Linked DNA regions of Homo sapiens: regions 1, 3 and 4 are each linked to region 2. The links are contacts of gene promoters, found by promoter capture Hi-C in blood cells and fetal thymus (Javierre and others, 2016). All regions are on one chromosome and are shown on one strand. Each heading gives the region's core, a stretch centred on a gene start or on the middle of the fragment in contact. The rest is flanking DNA. Distances are from core to core; before and after follow the strand shown. Region 1 overlaps CNOT4 (CCR4-NOT transcription complex subunit 4). Region 2 holds the start of CNOT4 (CCR4-NOT transcription complex subunit 4). Region 3 overlaps CNOT4 (CCR4-NOT transcription complex subunit 4). Region 4 overlaps CNOT4 (CCR4-NOT transcription complex subunit 4).

What was found. The method cuts DNA at HindIII sites, captures the fragments that hold promoters and counts their contacts. A CHiCAGO score of 5 or more calls a contact.
Region 1: a fragment that was not itself captured here is called in contact with the fragment with the promoter of CNOT4 in region 2 in 2 of 17 cell types (erythroblasts and M2 macrophages); the score reaches 6.3 in erythroblasts.
Region 3: a contact is called between a fragment that was not itself captured here and the fragment with the promoter of CNOT4 in region 2, in 1 of 17 cell types (M1 macrophages). The highest score is 5.3, in M1 macrophages.
Region 4: a fragment that was not itself captured here is called in contact with the fragment with the promoter of CNOT4 in region 2 in 1 of 17 cell types (M1 macrophages); the score reaches 5.1 in M1 macrophages.

What each region holds. Positions count from the first base shown.
Region 1 is chr7:135,403,080-135,408,919 of GRCh38, reverse strand. The region is part of intron 7 of CNOT4 (CCR4-NOT transcription complex subunit 4); the gene reads left to right. Among named protein-coding and RNA genes, the nearest start is that of CNOT4, 100 kb to the left of the region's middle. The HindIII fragment of the contact is 3,442 bases long and covers 1-3,063 here.
Region 2 is chr7:135,505,524-135,511,460 of GRCh38, reverse strand. CNOT4 (CCR4-NOT transcription complex subunit 4) reads left to right here and starts at 1,359. Exons shown (of 12, transcript NM_001190850.2): 1 at 1,359-1,572. RefSeq lists enhancers at 664-833, 984-1,103, 479-1,383, 1,414-1,613, 1,384-2,289 and a silencer at 1,174-1,413. The HindIII fragment of the contact is 7,472 bases long and covers 1-3,710 here.
Region 3 is chr7:135,432,713-135,439,004 of GRCh38, reverse strand. CNOT4 (CCR4-NOT transcription complex subunit 4) reads left to right here. Exons shown (of 12, transcript NM_001190850.2): 2 at 582-847. The coding sequence starts at 674. Among named protein-coding and RNA genes, the nearest start is that of CNOT4, 74 kb to the left of the region's middle. The HindIII fragment of the contact is 730 bases long and covers 2,854-3,583 here.
Region 4 is chr7:135,379,717-135,385,623 of GRCh38, reverse strand. The region is part of intron 10 of CNOT4 (CCR4-NOT transcription complex subunit 4); the gene reads left to right. Among named protein-coding and RNA genes, the nearest start is that of CNOT4, 130 kb to the left of the region's middle. RefSeq lists an enhancer at 4,728-5,308. The HindIII fragment of the contact is 2,125 bases long and covers 1,970-4,094 here.

The DNA of each region.
Region 1 (5,840 bases), core at 93-2,592, 100 kb after region 2:
GCATATGATCTTAATACCCAGAGCTTTTCATTGAAAGTGATTTGTGTACAGCATGCCCTCCAATAACATCATTTCATTCAGTATTGTTTTGTTACAATGTTGATGAGAAAAAAATCGATTCCCAGTTGGGGCCACTGCCTCTGTGGACTTTGCCTGTTCTCCCCATGTCTGCGTGGATTTCCTCTGGGCACTCTGGTTTCCTCCCACATCCCAAAGCTGTGCACGTTAAGTGAATTGACATGTCCAAATTGTCCCATTGTGAGTGAGTGTGAGTGTTTATGTGTGTGAGGGGACCCTGCCAAGGTTGGTTCCTGCCTTGCCCTCTGATTTGCTAGGATGAGCTCTGGCCACCTGCAACCCTGAACCCCAGTAAGTAGGTTGGAAGATGAATGCATGAATAAATACAAATTATTGTAAAATGTAAATTTGTAAAGTGTTAGTGTATTTTCTTATACACTAATTCCTTGCATTGTGTATTTTCTTAGTCTTTTTTCTTCTTGCGAATGCCTATAAACCATTATACACAGAGTACCTTGGTTTGTTACATTTGAAAACCTAATACATATTATTATGAATAATTTCCCCATGTCACTAAAACATAATTTTTTATGGCTATGTAGTATTTCACTATATGTTCATATTTTAAATTTATTAAGCCAACCTTCTGCTATTGTATGTTATGTTGACTTTGTTGATATTATTGATAACACTGTGATATGAACATCTTTACATATAAATGTTATATGGTTGTAACATATAAATGGTTATAGCTTTGATTGTTCCTACAAGTAGAACTGCTGAGTCAGAATATGAGAGTACCTATTTCCTTGAATTGGGTATTTTTTTTTGCCTTCTGCATACTTGCCAATTTGATAAACAAAAAAAGCTGTCTCATTTTAACTTGTATTTGATTAACAGAGTGAACTTTTTATGCACTGTGAGTTTATGTTTCCCATGTTTTATTTGTGTGTTTAAAAGTTTTATATGAGTTACAGAGATCTGAACTTCCCCAATCAGTTGATCAATTATTTGTGTTTCAAAATACATTGAATTTGTAAATCAGTATTGGAAGAATTTATATTCTGTGACACTGAGGCCGGGCCTGGTGGCACATGCCTGTAATCCCAGAACTTCATGAGGCTGAGACAGGCGGATCACTTCAGGCCAGGAGTTCGAGAGCAGCCTGGGCAACAAAGCAAGACCCCTGCCTCTACAAAAAACAAAAACAAACATTGACTCCTCCCAACCATTAGCATAGCATATCTCTCTTGTGCCTTTCGGGAAAGATTTTCTTTTTCCTGTTTTATTGTATTGGATCTCCTACCACCTCTTTCTATTTGAAAAATGCTTAGGCTAAACAGTGCAAAAACAGTGTTAGACTGGTAGCACTAGCAGGTGTTTTTACCTCATACTTACTTTCATGGGGATGTCTCTAGTGTTTTATTTACTCTTTAAGGATGATTTTGATCATTTACTTGAGATAAGTATTTTTAATCACAATATGAAATACCTTGTTATTCCTCATTTATTGAGACTTTTTTCCTTTAGATTGGAAATGAATATTGGAATTTACCAAAAGTATCTTTGGCATTTATAACAAGTAGTTAGCTTTTACTGTGTTTAGTCTGTTCTTGCATTGCTATAAAGAAATACTTGAGACTGGATAATTTATAAAGAAGAGAGATTCATTTGGCTCACAGTTCTGCAGGCTGTACAAGCATGGTGCTGACATCACTTGGCTTCTGGGCAAAGCGGGAGGCAGGCACATCATATACAGCGATAGCAAGAGGGAGGGGGTTGGAGGGGGAAGGTACCACACACTTTTAAATGACCAGATCTCCTGTGAACTCAGAGCAAGAGCTTACTCATCACCAAGGGGATGGCCCAAGCCATTCATGAGACGTCCACCCCCATGATTCAAATGCCTCCCACCAGGCCCCACCTTCAACACTGGGGATTATAATTCAACAGGAGATTTGGTGGGGACATACATTCAAACTATATTATTTACTTATTTTTGTAATCAGTTATTAATAGATTTGCTAACATTTTATTGACTTTGCCTTTATTATAAAGTATAGTCAGGTAGTCCATAGAGCACATTCATAACTGTTTTGGTAGCAGGAGAATGTCTAGGAGCCACAAGTTGTAAAGGGGGAAACAGGAGGAAAAGAGGAAATATAAAACAAGTAAACTCATTTACTAATTTTGCCCAAAGCCAGTGCTACAGAACCTCAGCTGGGACCAGAATAAAAAAAAATTTTTGAGAGTCTTGCTGTCACCTGGGCTGGAGCACAGTGGTGTAATCGTAGCTCACTGCAGCCTTGACCTCCCAGGCTCAAACGATCATCCCACCTCAGCCTTCTGAATAGCTGAAACTACAGGTGCACATCAACACACCCAGTTAATTTTTCTTTTTTTTTGTAGAGATGGCGTTTCACCATGTTGCCCAGGCTGGTCTCAAACTCCTGGGCTCAAGCGATTCGCCTGCCTTGGCCTCCCAAAGAGCTGGGATTATAGGTATGAGCCACTGTGCCTGGCCAGAGCAAATTTTGACATAGGTGTACATGCTTTGCATAAGTACATGATATAGAAACTTTTTTTGGGGGGGAGGGTGGGGGGTGGGGATGTTTTCTGTTTTAATGCGGTTACCTAAATTTATTAAGTGACAATTAATGGCCCAAGTTACAGAGAGTAAGCCTTTGGCTGACTGTCAGTCATAGCGAAAGGTCTGCTTTGGTTTCCACTTCCACATTGCCATCACCCAGGGTAGGCATACAGAGGCAGTAGGTAGTAGGGATGAATTTGTAGATAAGATTTCTCACAGGAAAGACTTGCCAAATTAGAGTGATGAGCAGTGTAACTCTTTCCAAGGTCATACCCAAGAGATAGGTTTCTTCATCTTCAAGGTAAGTTAAGACTTAAACTTTCTAGGAAAAAAAGAAACTCAAAGAAGGGTTTCATTTTCACATTTCTTGGCATTCCTAGATAGTGGGTAGCAGTTTTACAGAAAGAATTGCAAGAAAGCAAAGCCTGGAACCTTATAGATTGAGGCTCTAAGCTTAAAATGTGATTTTCTCTTATTTTCAATTAAGCCAGAGTACAAATCTTAAGATTACCATAGCTATTAATCCTCACTGAACCCTGACATGGTCCCCGATGCACATATATGTTAGTAAGTGAATTTTTCTATAATATATTTTACTCTTATTTCACCTAGTGAGCAGAAAATTCTAAAAAAGGAATTTGTCATCTGCTCCCCTTCATTATTATGAATTCGAGAGTATATCAGTCTTAATGAGTTTTGAACTATATATGTGCTATGAATAAGTTGCTTTGAAATGATGAATACAAGTAATGAGAGTGGGAAGTGATGAAGCCTTGCAGTAATGATGCTTAAGGACTGGCTATTTTATTATTTTTAAGTTTGGGGCTTTGAAATATCTTCATTTAGATTGAGATGCTATTTAAGTACCAACTGTGAAAGGAATAGTAACTAGGTAGGCTGCTGTGCCCAAGACAGTGAGCAGGCCTAGTTACAAGAATTGTGGGGTATGCAGATCACTCGGTGTAAATGGTTATGACTTGATATTGTGGCTGAAACAAGCCATCATTGAGGAAATGGAGATGTTCGGCTTTAGATTTAGGTGGAGCGAGGGTGGAATAAAAGTTTTGAGTCTTCTGTGTTCATTTAATATCCTCAGTAGGCCTGTGTGGTATATATTGTTTTCTTACTACGGGTAAAAAAACTTAAGTCTCAGAGAGTTTAAACAGTTTACCAGTATCCCACACAAATAAGCAGTAGATAAGATTCTGACCAAAGTCTCTGTGACTTTAAAGCCCAAGCTCATCCCTCATTCTCCCACTCTTCAGTCTAGAAGAGGTAAAATTCTTAAGAGCAGCTCTTAGGAAAAACTTTTTAAAACATAAATCAAATTTGCTTAAATGAAACTGTGCCATAACTATATGTAGTTTGATCTTGAAAATATCTGGTGCTTGAGGCTTGTTATCTGAAGACAGATGTAGTGGATGGATTGTAAATTCCAAGGAATTGATGTTATTTTTAGCAAACTTTCCCTGAGCCACAGATTGGTGGCAGTAATGGATTAGCTAGAGAAATGGTGAAAGGGAAACTTTTATAGGAATTTATCGATTTTTATTACATTTGAGAAGGAGTATACATCTTTTAAAATAAAAATACAGCTATATCCTTACTGAAAATCAAGTATAATCTCTGATAGACTGAAGGTATAGTCAGAGTACCTTATTAGTTCAGCAGAATGGGAATGGTCACTGCATGAATTCCATTCTCATAATTATTTGGTAAAACTCTTGAGATTTAGAAAAGACATAGTTCATAGATTTGTAGAAAAAGGTCTCAAGCAGAGATTGTTAGATTATGAATAGGCCTCAGGATATTTGTGAACACTGAAATTTTATGTAACATTTTGCATCTGTGCACATTCTTTTGAGAGAGAGAACTGACCTAAAAATAGTTATCAATTAAATATTGGTGTAGAGGGCACTGGTCTGCTGATACTTCTAGATAGATTAGAGGTGAATTCAGGAGTGGAATAAAGCAGTGATTCTCAAACTATGGTCAGGTGCCATGAGAAATGGACTAGTAAGTTAAGTGAGTGAGTTAAAGTTTGCTAAGATTTTATATTTACATTAAAATCAGCAGATTACTAGGTTTTTCTGAGTTTATATCTCAGAATCTTCCTTATTTCTCTTGAAAAGTTTTCTTCCTATGTCGTATTTGGCTACATACAGAGTTAGTGCACATGTGCATATGCAGTGAAAAACTAGTAAGTGAACTGGGATATCTTGGCCCACCTAAGTAGAATATGGTCAAAAAAGAAGTTAGAACCACTTGTCTAAAGTATTTGTTCCAGAGGGTGGGGTGGGATGAGTGTGGGGTTAAGGGGCAGTTAAAGATAGGGTTGTGTGTGCCCTTGTTTACTAGAATGAAAGCAAATAAGAAGTGTGTTTAGGTTTAACTTAAATATAAATCTTTTAAAAACATTAAGTGTATTACTGAAATACAGAATTTATGAATAAGTGGAGACTTGCTGTTTTTGAAGGTTACCACATTTTGTGATATGTTTAGGCTAGTAGATGTCCATATTTTGACTTTATTATTAAAAACTAATTCTTTGTACTTATTAATAGTTATCAAAACATTTATTTTCATTCATGTTAAGTAGGTCATGGGGTTATGAGAAAATTCTAATTAAAATCATATTTACACAACTACAATCGTTCTAGGTTTAATAAGGCACATTTTTCTTACCTTTTTATTTTATTTTTTTATTTTTTAATTTATTCTAAAGAGAGAGGATCTTGCTGTGTTGCCCAGGCTGTCCTCTAATTCCCGAGCTCAAGTGATCTTCCTGCCTCAGCCTCCTGAGCAACTAGGACTATAGGCACGTAGTGCTACACCCAGCTTCTTGTTCTGTTAATAGCTAATTATGCCACTTAGATGTGGCCATGTTTTAGTAGCAAAGTAATACTTTACATGTTAATGTATATTTGAAGCCTGTGTCAAAGTATATTCTGTAAAGGCAAGTTTTACCTGTTGATAACTTAAATATATCCTTTGTGTTAGCAAGTGTTTAAAAATATCTCAGAATTACTTAGGGACTCTGGTAAATGGCAAAATTAAGATAGATTCTTTGAAATGAATATATGTGGGAGTATTTAATTTAGAAGCAAAATGAATATGTATTTGTATATATGGTAACATGACAGTGAAATTTGGAAATGTCTGTTATGTTGACTTTTATCCTTATGTAAATTTTATGTTTAAAATGTAAGTAAATTTTATATTTTGTTTAAAA
Region 2 (5,937 bases), core at 110-2,609:
GGCTGAGGCAGGAGAATCACTTGAATCCGGCAGGCGGAGGTCGCAGTGAGCCGAGATCGCGCCACTGCACTCCAGCCTGGGTGACAGAGCTAGACTCCGTCTCAAAAAAAAAAAAAAAGAAAAAACAATGAATTGAGGGCTTATTATGAAATTAAGTTCGTAAATTTAAAACTGCAACCTCTTTCCCTACTCCCCTTCCCTGCTTTAAGTTTTTAAAATCGGTTATGACATACTATGCATTTTAATCACGTATTTTTAAAATAATGCCTCTTCTCTCCTCTTCCTCATCCCAACACATCACTAGAATAGGGACAGGGAATTTTTTCTATTTTGCTCACCATTGTATTCTCAATATATAGAAGAGTACCCGGCAGCTAGGAGGAGCTCATTGAGTATTTGCTGTATGAGTGGGTGAAGAATACATGCAATAAGCAAAAGTTACTGCTTCGAGCGCCACTTCCACCAGAGTTCTGGGATGCAAACGGGGCGACCAGTACATTGACTGACTTTTGTGACTGATGATTCCTCAGTGCTCGTAGGGATTGTGGCTGCATTTATTGTTCTTGGGGATGTGCCGATGTGTGTAGTTTGTAAACTTGCACACAGCTGTGCTGGCTGGACACCGAACTAACACTAATTTGCACCGAGGTCCGCAAATTCTCAAATTCACACCAACAGAAGCACGTTATTGTAAGTGCACGGGTGTTCCGTTCTCTTGGGTAATCTGCACAGAACAATTTAGTGTATGTCTTCACTGGTGATTTTACAGTGAAGAAGGGATCAAGGGTGGTGGCCCCAAATGCGCAAGGACAGGGAAATGAATTAAACAGGCGCCTGTTTCCTCCTTGTTCGCAAACAGACGCCAAGTCTGTATCAAATTCTCACCCTGGATCAAATCCCGCGCTCTTCGTACCCACAACCTGCCTCCACCTCCACCCCGCCCCCTTTAGATATCCCTGGTGGGCGGGGCAGAGAATAAACATTCCGGGCTCCCCGAAAAACTGTTTAGCCTCGCCCCAGTCTTGGGGTAGCACATTTCCGCAAACACCGAGGACACGGAATCACTAGTGAAAACCGCCGACCAAATGACATTGAAGCAGCACACGCGTGCAGAGAAGGAAGCAAAACACGAAGAAAGGCATCAGTCCAGCAGCCACGTGAGGTGGGCGATCCCCTCCGCCCTCTGAGAGAGGACTTCAACTCCCGGCGTGCCCCTGGGAGGTTACCCTCCGAGGACTTCAACTCCCAGGGTGCTGCGGGAGCGGCCACCGCAACCTCCCACTCAGCCGCCCGCCGCTCCTCCCGCCCCTCCCCCGCCCCTCCTGGCCGGATCAGCGTGCGCCTGCGCACGGGAGGCCGGAGGAGTCTTACCCTAATGTAAGATGGTGGCCCGTCTGGCTGTGGAACCCACCGAAAGCTGAGAGTCTCTCTCTCAGCCGTAAAGGTCGGACTCGCTGAAGCAATCAGGCCCGGTTCTGAAGAGTTTTTTCCCCGACGCTCGTTCGGTGGTTTCTTGTGAGGACGCGGCAGCCCGTGGAGTCGGCTGAGGGAAAAGCGAGGCAAGGCAGGCGGGTGAGTCTATGCGGGGCTGGGCTTAGGGGAAACCCGGGGCTGACCGGCTACGAGAGAGCGGAGGCTTCGCTGGGACTGTACAGGCCGCACCCCCCTTTCTCCCCACCCCCCGCCTCATCTTCACCCTCCTCCTCCTTGGTCTTCTTCCTCCTCCTCCTCTTCCTCCCTCTCCCCTTTACGCCACAGCAGTTACCATAAGGAAAAGGGAGCGGGTCAGAAGGCAGCGCGGCGGCAAGCAGCGACTCTCCTTCGAGAATTTCTTTAATTGGGGAGCCGAGGCGGCTTTTGGTCTCCAGCTTTTCCCCCTGCATTTTCACCGGGGCAGGATTCTTAGGTCTCAGCCCTCCTTGTTTCCCCAATCCCCTGTTCCCTGTCTGACGTCCTTTCCCTCTGGCCCCCGTCTCCCAAGACCAAAGCCATCACTTCCACTCTGATCCGTGTTGGCTGCTGCTGCTCATTAATCCCACTGCTCATTGCCCACTCGTCCTGCTGCTTGTTTTTTTGCTCCACTGCTACCACTCTGGAGTTAGCCTTTGCCCCCCTCTGGTGCTTGCAATCAGCCCACAGTGTATCTGCCACACTAGAGCTGCTTCCGATTTGCAGTCTTTCCTTCCACCACATCTGTCATCTTAAAGCTGCCCCTTAAGTATCTAGATTATGCTCCTCCTGCTAACCCACCTGTTTCTCAGCCTTCTTGAGAATTGTCCGTTCCTTCCCTCTTTCCTGTACAGATCCTTTCAATATACACTTCCAGAAAAAGGGAAGCCCCGTGGTGGCCCTTGAAAAGTAAAAGGAAGTTGGGAAGTGAATGAAGTGAGGTAGGATACTATTAAACGTTATGAGTGAAGATCTTTTATTCAGGCTACTCCGGAGAGGACCGTTTTCGTTTTGCTTTCTGTGATCTATTTGTCGCTTATTCGCTCTGTTGTGTTAGGACTTGGCTTTTTTTCTTTTTTTTCGTTTTGGACCGGTTTTATCATGCTACTAAGCGTTCTTTGGATTGCCTCTCCCCAGGACACTTAGTGTGGGCCCTGATTTATACCAATAAATATTAACCCCAGCATTACAAAATAAGATAAATCTGGCGCACATACAGAATTCATCTGTGAACTCCGCTAGCAAATATAAGTGATATTTTGATTACATGTGGGTTATGTGTGGGTTCTGTATTGAGGCTTGATTTTTGACTGAGTTTTATTGATGTTCAGCTTAATTGATGACATTTTATTTATGATTTGAGTGGAAATTTCCTCTCCAGTTAATATCAGATTTTCTTCTTATTTTTGGATTTGGGAAGTTCTCTTGACATTTCTAGGATGATAGTTATCAGAATAAATTGTCTTGTCTTGAAAATCCATTAGTTATGTATGCAAAAGAAAAATCGACATTTTTATATAAACCTAAGTTCCTCGTATTTTTCTCATAGAAAAGAAGGGGGCTGGGAAAAGAATGACAAAGCTGTGCACATACATGCATTTGGTGGAACTCACTGTCATTGTTATCTACAGTAAAAAGCAGAAAACTGGAAGCAAGAGGTGGCTTATGATGTCCATGTTTTGGTGAAAGCAAAATTAAGATGTACTGACTAATGGTAAAATGGGAAGAAGCAGCCCTGGCTATAATCAGACCACTGTGAGATAAAGAATTACCAGAAAAGCAACCAAGATTACATAGTTCAAATACATACATCCCAAGTTTAAACATGACTTACATGACATTGTATTCTTAAGATATATGTAAAAATGTTTAAAATCAGTGACAGTCTCATGTGGCAGTCCATTACTGGGTTATTGTAATTTTTACAAATTTTACCTGTAAAATTTGGAATCTTAACATTTGGCATTATGTTCACTTGATTGTGATAAATGGTCTGTTTTACCAAATGTAAACTAAGGTTAGAAAAGCTGTTTATAAAACTTTTTTCTTTCAGCCACTTAAGCCCCAATTTGGGGGACCAAATAAATACCTACTCTTAGAACTGCAAGCAATTTATATAGCAAACTTTGTGCTAAGTTACAAGTTGAGTTTTGGGTTTTTTTTAATCACTTACATTTAGTTTATCAGTAGGAGTGTATTTAATAGTTGATCTTTAACTCTAAAAAATATACTTTTTGTTGTAATACACTGGTGGAGAAGCTTTCCACTTTTAAAAATCCTAACACAGGTTTAGAAACTCTTGGCAGTCATACTTGGCTGAATTGTAAGCAGTGAGTTCTAGGAGAGGATTGTTTGTCTGGTAGAAGGGAGTAAGTGATTTTAATACATCTTTTTTTTTAAAAAAAGGTATTTGTCTCACGAAATATTTTCTCAAGTAATTCTTTCCCCTCCATAATTTTTGCCCGCAGTTACTGAATTCTTCATTTCAGCCCTCTGAAGTCAAAAGGAATTTACTTTTGTATCTTTAGTACGTTTAAAGAAGATATCTAAAGTTCTTTAACATTTTGATAGGAAATAGGGAGCTGAGATTTCTAAATAGTTTTGCTTGGTTTTAGTTTTTTGATCTAACGTTATGAACACTGAAGCTTCATATTTTCATGGTTTCTTTTGATAATTTGGAATACTTTCTGCCAGGTTGAGTAGTTGAATTCTTGAGATCAATAGATTATTTCTGTAAGAAGGTTTTGAACATGAATCGCTTAAAGTTGGCCTATTATAAAATTAGGATGAGACAGTTATAATCAAATGACAAAGTGCAGAAAAATAAAATTGTTTTTGTAATGCCCTTCAACTTGAGTCTAAATGGGAGTACTAGCGATAACTTGCAACTCATTTGTTAAAGAAAGGGTGTTGCCAGTGGATGAACTCCTAGCTTTAGGGGAGTCTTATTTTAAAAATGATTTTGTGTGCTTTAAAGGAATGAAAAAATATCTTATCAGTTTAAGCAGTTTGGATTTAGAAATCTTCCCTTTTTTCACCTCCCTAATCTTGGCTTTAAAAGGAATCCATATTCTTCAGTTTAATAAATTTATCTTTTTGTTGTTTTGTATGAGAAAAATATTAAATTTTCTTTTCTTTCTTTTTCTTTTCTTTTCTTTTTTTTTTTGAGACAGTCTCGCTCTGTCACTCAGGCTGGAGTGCAGTGGTGCGATCTTGGCTCACTGCAACCTCTGCCTCCCAGGTTCAAGCGATTCTCCTGCCTCAGTCTCTTGAGTAGCTGGGATTACAGGCGTGTGCCACCATGCCCGGCTAAGTTTTGTATTTTTAGTGGAGACGGGGTTTCACCATGTTGGTCAGGCTGGTCTTGAACTCCTGACCTCGTGATCCGCCCACCTTGGCCTCCCAAAGGGTTGGGATTACAGACGTGAGCCACCATGCCAGGCCTAAAATTAAATTTTCTAATGTGACTGCAAATAGTACTCAATTAAATATGTTTAAACTTAGTGTTATTATTTTTATAGATCATTTAAGTAAAATGGTTTTAATTTGTGAAAACTTCAGCCTCTGGTGAAAATTCAGTTAGTTAGCTCTCTTACAGTAACTATAATACTGTCTTGACTCTTTGTGAAGGAAGTTACATTCAGCTCATTTGGTTCTGAAGAAAACAGTAGGGAAATAGGTTATAGAGATTTTTGCTGTTCTAGAAACAGTATAACTAGAATGTACTACATAATTTTCTCAAAGGATTTCTTAATCTAAATGGAACTTGTAAATGGTTTTTATCCCACTGGAATAGCATGTATTGGATAAAACTTGTTTAACACATTCTGAGATTTTATAATATTTTATGTTACCTCAAAGATATTAGGAAAAATCTGCAAATATCCATTCCTGAATAAAAGATGACAATATCCTCAATATTTTAAAGATTGTAGTATATACATATTTTCCTCAAAAGTTGAGAGTACTCAAATTTAAAAGCTAGCATAATTTACCCAGTTATTTTTGTGATGCAAGGAAAGAAGATATGTGGGACTTTTTAATCATGCATTTATTGGTTTTCTAAAAGAACTTCACAATTGTTTTTAATCTTGTTATGTGGACTTCTTTATTAGAAAAGATTATGTGGTAAATGTCAACTTTTTCTACTATAATAGAATCTAACTGGTTCTGTGACACATTTCTTTTTTATGATACGATTCTTTATTATTTAATTACAAAGTTTATAAAAAATTTCACCACTATTTTGTCTCCTTAGATTTTAGTACTTAGATTTTAGCAGCATATTTTTCTTTTTATCAGAAAAGAGAAATTATAAGCTACTAAAAAGAAGATGATTACTTTTACTTGGTAGGAAAACCTAACTTTAAGGATGGTATAACACAGTTTGAGTATGAGTTTATTTTTCATCTTAACAGGTTTATTTGTGAGTATGGCTTTTTTTCTCCCCGCTACTCCCCAAGACGGAGTCTCGCTCTGTCACCCAGG
Region 3 (6,292 bases), core at 1,969-4,468, 74 kb after region 2:
TAATACGTGTTTCTCAGAAGTTTTCATTAGCATGTTATTACATAATTAGTTGTATTGTTAAGGTCTATGGTTCTATGGCATCCGAGTTTTTCTGAGTTTTAGCCTATGTTTCTCTGTGTCAAGAGTTTGATGTTAACATGTAACTATAGATGATTGAAGTATCTTGTTTTCATTCGATTTGTTTTATAAATTGTGACAAACTTTAGAATAGTGTAATAGTCTTCTAGTTATGTGGCAATATTACTAGGTTTTAGGTCAAAGATGAGACAGTTAAGAGTGCTGTTTTACCTTATTTATTCCCCTAAAATGTGTTATGATGAGTGCTATAGGCTAGTACTAAATGTTTTATCGAGAAAAAAGGGAAGTTCTTTTTTATTTATGTTGAATCCAAAATATTAATGATGCCAGGCCTTTTGTTTTGGTATTCAAAATTTTCAGAAATCCATTCTGAAAGCCATTTCAGGTTGATAACAGTAGTTGCTCAGTCAGTATTTTTCAAATTTTTTGACAGTGTGACTCTTAATTGTTGACTGTGCCATTTTTCCAGTAGTAAACAATGTATTTTGTTTCTTCTCATGCAGGTCGTCAAAGTCCTACATTTTAGCTTTCAGTGCTGAACTTCCTTCTCCCTTAAATTATTATAAACTTTTGCTGCTGTTTAATAAACGTGAAGATGTCTCGCAGTCCTGATGCGAAGGAAGACCCTGTGGAGTGCCCTCTTTGCATGGAGCCCTTGGAGATAGATGATATCAACTTTTTCCCTTGCACCTGTGGCTACCAGATTTGCCGATTTTGTTGGCATCGAATTCGCACTGATGAAAATGGGCTTTGTCCTGCATGTAGAAAGGTAAATACTTCAAAATAACTTCACAGTGATTTGTTTTAATTGTATAGTTTTTTGCTGCCATGTATATGAGCAAGTGAATTTAAAAGACTGTGCAAACCTCACCTGATTATATTATTTTATTATGTGTATTATTTTAAGATATAAGGTGGAAAGAACACTGCACTGGGAGTCAGGGCCACGTCTTGGCTTTGTTTACTAGCTGTATGATCTTTGTAAAGTCATGTAACCTCTCTGATTGGCCTTTAGTTTGTTGTTGTTTTATCCGAGGAGAAAGACATGGTCAGGGATGCTTACTGCTTAAGGAAATTAAGAATAGAGAGGTAATGGATTTGGATAGGGTTGCATGAAATTAGAAAAACATTTTATATTACATGTGGGAGGAAATTCACCTTAATTTTCTAGTACAAAATAGGAGAGAAGATGTTTACTAAAAAGAGTTAAAATGACAGAGAAATCCTCGTTCAGAAGATAATAAATGCTCATTTCTTGAGCCCTTACAGCAATTTTAGGCTGGTATTGATATTCCCATTTTACACTCAAGGAAACAGGAGCTTAGATAACTTGTCCAGAGTCATCAACTTGTGAGTAGTAGGTAGGAGGTTTGGAATTCAAATGTCTTTTGAGTCTATAGTCTGTTCTGAACTATTGTATTATTGAAAAGCCCCTCCTGGCCGGGCGCGGTGGCTCACGCCTGTAATCCCAGCACTTTGGGAGGCTGAGGCAGGCGGATCACAAGGTCAGGAGATCGAGACCATCCTGGCTAACACAGTGAAACCCTGTCTCTACTAAAAATACAAAAAATTAGGCAGGCGTGGTGGCGAGCACCTATAGTCCCAGCTACTTGGGAGGCTGAGGCAGGAGAATGGCGTGAACCCGGAAGGCGGAGCTTGCAGTGAGCCGAGATCGTGCCACAGCACTCCAGCCTGGGCAACAGAGCGAGACTCCGTCTCAAAAAAAAGAAAAGAAAAGAAAAGAAAAGCCCCTCCTAACTCTAAAAATCTATTATTTTTAATATTCTATGGGTTTTATTGTTTTGATAAGCACCAGCGACACAATTACAGTATAGTGAATTAACTACTAGGATAGGTAGGACTGCCACATTTGTATTTTGAAGGACTTTATTTGTGACCTTAGGGATTAATGCAAATATCTGCCACTTTATTATGGAATTTGCCTTTTCTTTAATGTTTGTATAATTTAAACTTTATTTTCTAATTACCCATTTTAAAGACCTCTTGTGTTCATTACTATCAAATTTTGAGAAAGCTGAAATGTGTTTTAGATATCTAAAATTTAAAAAATAATCTGTCTCTTAGTTTTCTTACCTGAGAATTTATAATAAATCTCAGAAGGCAATGCATTGTTTATTTATCATTAGATTTTTAAAATTAATCCAGTGGATATGTATATATATTATATGAATAAAAAGTTAGGTCTATTTCAATGTTAATATAGTTTATACATTTATATAGTTACACATATATTGTATATGTAACATATATAATGTGTATATATAATTTGTATATATATAATATTTCATGTAGTTAATATAGTTTAAGAAATGTGAATGGAAAGGTAAATGAAAACCCTAACATTAGCTTTGGGAAAAATCTATATAAATTTTTGTTTATGGATTTGAACATTTAGTTATATTTTAGAAATTGGTTCCCCAGTCATTCCATAAGAAGACAATCATATTGAACTATTTCATCAGAAGTAATGACTTTCAGGATTGCCCAAGACTCTAAGGATTGTAAATTTGATTGGCTTCATGATGTTTATCTTTTTCTTTTCTTTTTTTTTTCCCTTTGGGATGTTATGAAGTCACCTTAAAAGGACCAGTTATTAAATTGTCATTACAGAAAAATAAGTTATTTGGGGAAATTACAAAGAAAGTCATTTCAATCTTAAGAGATTACCTAAAATTACTTCAAGTCCTTAGAAAGTAAAAAAAGAAAAAAAAATAGAAGATTTTAAAGGTAAAAACAGTATAACTTTAGCAAGCTTGATATGAATAAAAGGGTGTCCTGGGAATACCAGAAAGTGTGAGGAATCTCTGAAAGACAAGAAGGACATTGGAATCAATTTCAAGGAGGAAGCATTAGATCAGCTCAAGAGAAAACTGCTTAAAAAAAAAAAAGGAATGGGAGTGCTTCAGGATCCTAGGAAAAATATCAGTGTAGTTGGGTCAAGTATGGTGTCAGAGCAGCCTTATAGGCCTACCCCCTTTTTTGTGCCATGTAGCAGAGACAGATGCCCTCTAATTAAAACAGTGATTATAAGTTTGAATCAGAGCCTTAAGGTTAATGGAAACATTCTGGAGGAACTAGGAGCTTCTATACCTAGCAGATTACCTGTCCAGCAATATGTCTTTGCTACAGTCACAAAGGAGAATCTTGCAGTAAACAGAAATAGCATTTATAGGCAGATTACCAGGATTCTCACATGTAAAGGTGTGCAAAAACAAGAATTAACACAGATTTCAGGAAAACCAACATCATGAAAGAGAAGCACAAAATTCAGTAAATAGAAGATCCTAACACAGGAAACAAAACAGAAAGACATTTAAAACTATCATTGGTACCTTTCGGAAAGGAAAGAGGGAATGTCATATTCATGTAGAAAGATTATATTTCCTTATAAAAAGAACAAATTAGAGAGGTCTTGAAAAATCTTATAGATGGCCTGAAAAGCAAAATGGACACATTATAAGAGCAAATTGATAAATTGGAAGCTTGTGCTGAGTGGGTTTTTATTGAAGAATATAATGCAACAAGAGAAAAAATAGAAAGCATGAAGGAAAAGCAGCATAGATCCACAGGTTCTAATCTCTGCTGAGAGCAGTCTCAGAGGAGTGAACTAAAAATGAATAGGAAGAAATAATCAAAGAACTAATAGAAGAAAATTCCTCTTAGATTAGAAGGGCCCTGTGAGTGTGAAGCAAGGTGACTGAAAAAGATCAATGTTTGTTTATATAATTGTGAAATTTTAGAACATCTAGAATAGAGAAAACTCTAAAAGCTTGTGAGAGATAAATATTTAGAATACAACAGAACAAGACTAAAATTAATACCGGTATTTTCATTTTACAATTACAGAAAATAAACTGAGAAATTTATTTTCCCAAATTTTGAGGGAACGTAACTTTGAAAGGAGAGCTCTCAATTTTATTAATATGTAAAGGCATAATAAAACATTTTCACACATGCAAAGATTCATGAACTTTATTATTCATGAACCACCATACAAACAGAGAGTTGAGGATGACTGCAGGGTTTTGACTGAACACCTGAAAGTAAAGAATGGCCATTAACTGAAATGGGGAAGACTGCACCAGGAATAGACATTTGAGAAGATCAGAAACTCAGTTTTAGACATGTTAAGTATGAGATTCCTATTAGAAATCTAAGTGGAGATATTGAGTAGACAGGTGAATGAATGTTCATGTCTGGATTTCAGGTGAGGTTCTGGTATGGAGATACAGATTTTGGTGTCAGTTAGCATATAGTGTGTTATTTATAACATCACGAGACTGGATAAGATCATGAATTGAAAAGATGAAAGATTGTCTAAGGATAAGCACCAAAACTTTCCAACAGTTACAGAAAAAAGAAATCCAGATTACAGAGGTCTAAGACAACCTCCCTTTAGGGTCTCCAAGTTACATCTTTAGCTGAGGTGGTTATTGTTATTAGGCCAGGAATAATTTTTTGGTTTCTTGTTGACTTAATCACATCTCCTAGAACCTCTTCTTGGTCTCCTGGTCACCAGACTTTGTAGTGCAGGCAGCAGAGAGTCTTGGAGTCTGAATCCTGGCCTAGTCTTGCCAGAGAATCTGCTCAGCGCAGCGCAAGATAAATATTTGTGAAGTTGCCTGTGTCGGTCGGAGTCAAGCAAGTCTTTGGTCTCTGGAGGCCATCTACAGTGGTTGTGTTAACACAGAGGAAAACCACAATGTTGCTAGAGGCCTAGAGAGGGTCATGAAGCTGCCATTTACATGTAACCCAACCCTGCAGGCACAGGGTCTACAGAGGCCATGCTGTGAGGTGGCATATTGAGATGATCTGAAGAAACTTGGGAGATGCAAGTAGGGAGCTAGTTGAATCAAGCTCCTGTTCTCAGTCTACAATATGAAACGTGCCTGTTTTGCAGAAAGTTTCTCTTAGCTTTAATATCTTTGAAAAGCAGAGACAGCCAGATTTTAAAAACCAAGAGAGTTTAGTGTTCCCGTTTGGTCCTAGCTGCTAAACACAGGCACAGGCTACTTGGTTTTTTCTTAGACTGCTTTCATGTGTCCTTTTAGTGCAGCATTTCTGAGAAAGCTACTAGTGGAAACAGCAGATATGGGAACATAGGTGGTGCACTGATGTGGCATTCTGTATTGATTCCCATGGAAACCAGAGACTATACAAGGAAATGAGAACTTCAACAGAAGTATTATTATTTTTATTTCAGAAATAATAGAAGATAATGTATCTATGAAACAAAAACAGGATGGTGGTTTGGACATGGTGGCTCATGCTTGTAATCCCAACATTTTGGGAGGCTGAGGTGGGAGGATTGTTTGAGGTTAGGAGTTTGAGACCAGCCTGGGTAACATGGCGAGGCCTCATCTCTAATAACAATAAGAAAAATTAGCTGAGTGTGGTGGCACATGCTTGTAGTCCCAGCTACTCGGGAGGCTAAGGTGGGAGGATCGCTTGAACCCAGGAGGTTGAAGCTACAGTGAGCCATGTTCATGCCACTGCACTCCAGCCTGGGTGATAGAGCAAGATACTACCTCAAGAAAAAAAAAAAAAAAAAAAAAGAACAGGATGATATAAAGAAGAATATTCAGTGAACAGTAACCATTGTCATTGAAAATTAAAATATAATAGCAAAAATAACTGAAGGAAAGCATTGGAAGATGAAGTTGAGAAGATCTTTTAGTGAAACAAAAAGCAAAAGAGATGAAATATTTGGGAGAAGAGATTAAGTTCATCTGAGGATCAATCAAGGACGTCAAATACCAAACAATTAAGTGCTCTAGGAAGAGATCAGTACTCTAGGACGAGATCACAGTGATACAGAGGGGAAGTAATCATCCAAGAATATGATCGAAGAATATTTCCCAGAACCAAAGAACACATTTTCAGATTGAAAGGGCCTATCAAGTGTCCAGCACAAACTTTTTTATTTGGAAATACCAGAATACCAAAGACAAAGAAGTTCTACAAGCTTCCACAGAGGAAAATAGCAGATCGCATGTAAAAGACAAGGAATCCGAATCGTTTCAGATTTCTCAATAGCAAGACTTCAAGCTAGAAGATACTTCTGAAGGAAATTAATTTTCATCTTCGGATTCCGTATCTGCTCAACTGTTAAGTGTGACGGTACACTAAAAGACATTTTCAGACCTGAGAGGCCTCAAAATTTTTTTACCTTCCATGCATTCTCTCCCAGGAA
Region 4 (5,907 bases), core at 1,783-4,282, 130 kb after region 2:
GACAAACATTCATTATTCTACGTGTGTGTGAGCTCATGTCTCTTACTCTTAGCATCCTGGGAATTAAGTACAGCCTTCTGTGTAGGTGTTCCTTTAAAGAAAACAACTTTAATGCATTTTACCTCTGCACATTTCCACTGACATGACTCCTATTTGTACAGTGTTCCGAGCACTGTCAAGACTGCCAGAGCTCTGGCACAGGTCCATAGGTACTCCCACGGAGGCATTGCCTCAGAAAGACAAGAGAAAGGAACAAATTGCAGTTGCTTTGAAATCTTACAGTGGCCTATAGGGGTTGGGATAGGGCAGTAAGGAGATCCAGCTGAGGTATTCAGGGACTGGTAAGCTTGGATAAGTGTGTTTAAAGCCTTGAAAACCAGAAGAAGAGTTTAGTCTTGATGTGAATGTGGTCAGTGGTAGAGAACTATAGGTTCTTAGCAAAAATGTAGTTTGAACATAGCATTTTAAGAACAGTAATGGGGTAATAGATTTGATTGCAATTAGGACCGGTTAGAAAGTAATTCCAGTAGTATGCCATTGCTGGCCAGTGCAAATAAGTTGGCCTAGACTAGCACAGTAGTGGTTGGAATGGAGAAGAACTATGAATTAGAAATTGGAAAGCGTAAGAGCTGAGAAAAGGCCTTCAGATTTGGTTAGATCTGTGGTGATCTTTAAAAATGTAACTTTCATAGAAAAGTACAGAATGGAAGCCCATCTTTTTAGGATTAATGAGGAAATGTCAAGAATATGTATGCAGCAATCATTGACTACTTAGTGTTAAGACATTTGACAACAAAGTTGAAGAGACAAACAAGATGCTAACTAGATGGGTGGTAGATCTTAGAAGGCATTGCTTTAATATAAGGGAGAAGAAGAACCTAAATATTTAAAGGCAGACCTTACAGAGCCAATTGAGAGGAAGAGACTGGCAGTGCTGAAGAGAAGATAGGCTCATTCAGTAGGATAATAGATGTCGTTGGGTGGTGGGAAGAGATAAGCTCCTGAGACGAGCATGTGGTATAGCTTAAGAGAGGTGGGTGGCCAGGCGCGGTGGCTCACGCCTGTAATCCCAACACTTTGGGAGGCCAAGGCAGGCAGATCACAAGGTCAGGAGATCGAGACCATCCTGGCTAACACGGTGAAACCCCGTCTCTACTAAAAATACAAAAAAATTAGCTGGGCGTGGTGGCGGGCACCTGTAGCCCCAGCTACTCGGGAGGCTGAGGCAGGAGAATGGCGCGAACCCAGGAGGTGGAGCTTGCAGTGAGCCGAGATGGTGCCACTGTGCTCCAGCCTGGGCAACAGAGCGAGACTCCGTCTAAAAAAAAAAAAAAGAGAGAGAGAGAGGTGGGCTGTATCTTCCTCTGTGATTTGTAAGAGCAAGAAGAACCTGGGGAAAGAGAAAGATGAGAATTGATGAAATGGCTCATATCAGTAATTATTAAAATGCATTATTGTTTGAAAATGGGGGTGAAAGAGTGGAATTGGGAGCCTTTTAAAGGAGATTAAAAAAAAAAGTCTTTTGTGAGAATAAGCCCAGAAATGCATTGTAAATAGTTGCTTAGTTGCTGTGTAAAGATAAGAGTCAGCTTAAAGATCTCTAAAGTTGAAATATATGTGGTTTTGTATGTTCCTCTGGTTTAGCACAAAGCATAGGAGTGGAAAAAGCAAATATTGAGTGTTTGGTTAAAAGGGGAAAAAGACAAAGACATAGAGACATTCAAGAAGACCACATTGAAATGTATAATCTTGTGCCAAGAAGAGTCTATTAAGGCAGTTTCCTGTGAAGAAATGGTGTGAGTGATGTGGAAGGGAGTTGAATGATTTTAGATTTTGATGATGACAAAGAACATGTTAGTGTTGCTAAGGGAATGATAACTAGGAGACTGTGGTCACTGTGATAACCACTCAATGCTAAATGATGATTGAGAACCAGAGAAAGGAGAGGGTTGGAGTTTGGAAAGAAGCTTGTCTTTTGTAACCGTCTATATACTCTCTCCTCCAGTCTTTTCATGAGTGTAGGAAGTCAAACTATGTGAGAGAGAATTGTAGAAAGCATGGAAGCAATTCCATGCATCCGCAGATGGGCACCTGGGGAATCCTGGGTCAGGTTTCCGGTGAGTTGAAAATGATCAAAGGAAAACTTCCTTCCTCAAAGCATCGTAGGAGGACATGGAAGCAGAGTGCTGGGGAGGACCAGGAAAAGCCAGGGATGAGATGAGACAGCTATAAGTAAGCAGCCCCAGTGAGTGTGAAGGATTGGTAGAAATGTTACTGATGATGTGAAAGATTTAGACAGAGGGATTAGGTATGGTGTATGATGAGTTTGGTAGTTGAGGAGCCCTTATTACAGGTAATATAGCTTCTCCCAAGCTCACTTGCAAACTGGAAGGCTTTTTTAAAAATGGGCTTCCACCTATGAAGGGAAAGCATCTGCTCTTACATAGTTGGATTAGGTCATTCTGCTTTATTTATATATCAAATAAGAATTAAGGTACTGGTGAACAGTAGAGATAAAGTAAGAATTTTATTGTAACAGGTTATAAAAATATTTTGATAATTTCCCCCAAAGAGAATGTACTATGAATAAATAAAATCTACAAATTATTGGGCTAATTTACCCTTGTTTCTTATATTTTGTATACTTAGGAGGTGACCTCTAGGAAAAAATTGCTGAAGAGGTAGTAGAGCAGGGTGAAGATACCGTATACTGTCATCCCTAGGTATCTGTAGGGGATTGGTTCCACAGATTGCAAAATTCTTGGATTCTCAAGTCCTCGATATAAGACAGTGTAGTATTTGCATATGACCTGCACATATATGGGAGGCCGTATATTTTAAATAATCTCTAGATTACTTCTAATACCTATTACAATGTAAGTGCTATGTAAATAGTTGTTATATTGTTTAGAGACTGACGAAAACTGCATGCTTAATAAATTACACAATTTTTTAAAAAAATTTTCTATTCGATGTTGGTTGAATCCACAAATGTGAAAACCCCAGGTACCTGGAGTCAACTGTGTGGTTTTTTTTTTTTCTCCTAGTCAGTTAATAATAAATATTCCTAGTTTGGAAGCAACCTTAGTTTTCTAATAAAGTATTTTTAAACTCACTCCGTATATGTCAGCTGAAATATCAACTGTGACATTTAAAAAGGATAATGCTTCTAAGTACAAATCATTGCTCAAGAATACTATGTTTGTGAAACCTTGTTGATGGATTGAGAAGCCACTGCTCCTTGGACCTCCTTATCACCCTGTGATTTGCTTCTGTGAGTTGTAATCGAGCCACCTAACATTGCTGGTCATACTAGCCTTCCACTTCTTAGTCAGGGGCTATTTCCAAAGAATCACTCTTGATAATTTGAGATGCATTAAGAAGATTCTACTCTGTTTTTTGGTCTTTTAGAGAGTCTTCTCTGGGTTTGAGTTATAGAGAAATCGAGTTTAGGTACCTAGAACTGAGAGCAAGCCTAAGTAATCTAAGCTACTTGAGAAATGGACTGAAGTACCCAGATGTTCCATAAAACAGCTTGAAGTTGTTGACCTTGAGAACCATTTCCTTTTCTCCAGGTTCCTCTTGACCACACTTCCTAAGGCAACTATTGACTTCACTGTCTTAGCCCACTTTACCTTTATTCTAAGAGTTCCTGGAAGCTCCAAGCTGACCCTGGAACATACTGTGCTTATAACAATTTTGTTATTCCAGCTCCTGTTGGGTGCTCAGACCCACTATTGTGCTGTTACAAAGCAACATCCCAAAATGCTTTTTCCCCTCATATAATTTATAAAGCCTTTAATGCATCCATTACCTTTCTTTCTTTTTTATAGCGGGTGAAATTCACATAACGTTCAATTAATTATTTTAAAGTGTATGATGCAGTGACCCAGTACCATTCTTTAATTATCTCAATGGTAAAATAGCAGAATAAGTAACCTACTCTGCTGTAAGAATTTTAGTCTGTTTCTTGTTGGGGCTGTGTGGTAATAGCTGCTTCTAGACTCTGTGTTTTACCCAGTAGGCTGAAAGGCAAATGTTAAACCTTTAAATATTCCGTATTTCTGCATAGCAGTACTACTGCAACTTAAGCTTGTGAATCAAGCAACTTGTATACACCCTTTTAAAAAGGCAGTGGGGGGCAGTGCAAGGAGCTCTAGGCAAGAGACACTTAGGAGATTTGCTTTTCTGAGTGGTAAAAATGTTTGAAGCAACTCTAAATAGCTTTGAAATGTTAGTAATAGTCTTACTGTCTTCATGACATTTAATTAGCCTTCTGTAAGAGTTTGTTTAGCAAAGGTAAACCATAAGCCTAGCCCTCTATATGCATGTGTGGTTGAATGTGTGTGTGTTTTTATATAAAGCAATTTTCAGTTAAATCTTCCACTTAATGAATGTAGTAGAGGAAGATGTCTCATGTCATTTTGGTGACCTTGACCTATGTCTATTCATGTATTTATTCCTGCTGTGTTCCAATTCATATCTTCAGGATAAATGCTGTATCTTTATTGTCTTTCTCCAATTTTTTTTTGAAGGAACCAAAGACCCTATTTAAATGCAATAAGGTTGTAATACTGGTGCCCACTTCACCCTGGTCATGTTTTTTCTGAACAAATATTTCATAGCTTTTCCTCATCAAATTCCAGTCCCACTGCTAAGATACCCATCTATGACACAGTCTTTGGGAAAACCCAAGGAAAGGATAACTTAAAAATGATTTGTATTGGAATCATGACACTTCAGAGCTATGAATAAATAAATATAACATAGTCTTTAACAATCCTTTTAAAGACCGAATAATAACAATGATGATAATAAACAAGGCTCCGAAGGATTGTGATTTGTCTATAGTCACATTCTAACAACAATTTGAAGTTTCTTTAGCCCTCACCATGTAAATGTGCTTTCATGCTTGAAACTCAGTGGAGGAAAAAACTTTTAAGATTCAGAATCTGTCTCCTCTAAACATTATTGTGTCTTACAGTTTAATTACAGTAGGTCTCTCAAGTCAAGGGCTTACAACTGTGAATTCATTGCAAACAATGAATTTGAAGGCTTTCAAAATGACCACCAGCTGGCAGCTGTTGTCACAGATCCTGTAGGTTTTCAAAGCTGCCCTGTGTTAAATGTGGCCCAGTGATCTTGGAGTAACTTTAGCAGGGGAAAAAATTGTAACCTTGCAGGTACTCTTAAAATAAACTTATGCTAACTACAAAATTACCAGTGTCAGAACTAAAAGAGTAAAACAGAGGTGGAGTTTAATTTACCCAGGATTTTTCTGCAGTACCAAAGAGAATTTAGGGGACAACACACATAACCACTAGACTGGTGACATCTCTAATATTACAAAATGGAAAAAAACTTATAGTAATGGCACCAAGATGTATTACATACACACTAAAGATGTGATCTCCGATTCATCTTTGAAGAAGAGCTACTCTGTGTTACACCATATAGAATGATAGCATATCTGCTGGGTTTTTTTGTTTTTTTTTTTTTCCCCAATCAAGGAAGTTGTTGTTTTCAGCATAAGGAAACAGGGAGAGCTCCACAAGGATTTAAAGATGATAATGCTATCACTATCTCCAAGAAGAAATGCAAGAAATCTGCAATCAACTTTTGTAGCCTAGCACTGTTGCTTAATATAGTGAGATCTTGGCCCAAGGACTGCACTTAGCATTTACACTCTGTTATCAGACTTGCATACTGAAATAATGTATTGATGGAACAGAAAGTAGTGATCTAGAACTTTAGTGGGGTGTTCTAAAACATTGTCGTGTTATATGTTGGCATTTGCAAGAAGTCTGACAACTGTATATTTTTATTTTTTTCCTTTATTACATCTATATGTTTAGTATCCAGCTAAAGGTAAAAGATTGCCTGGGTTATGACTTCATCAGCCAAGTA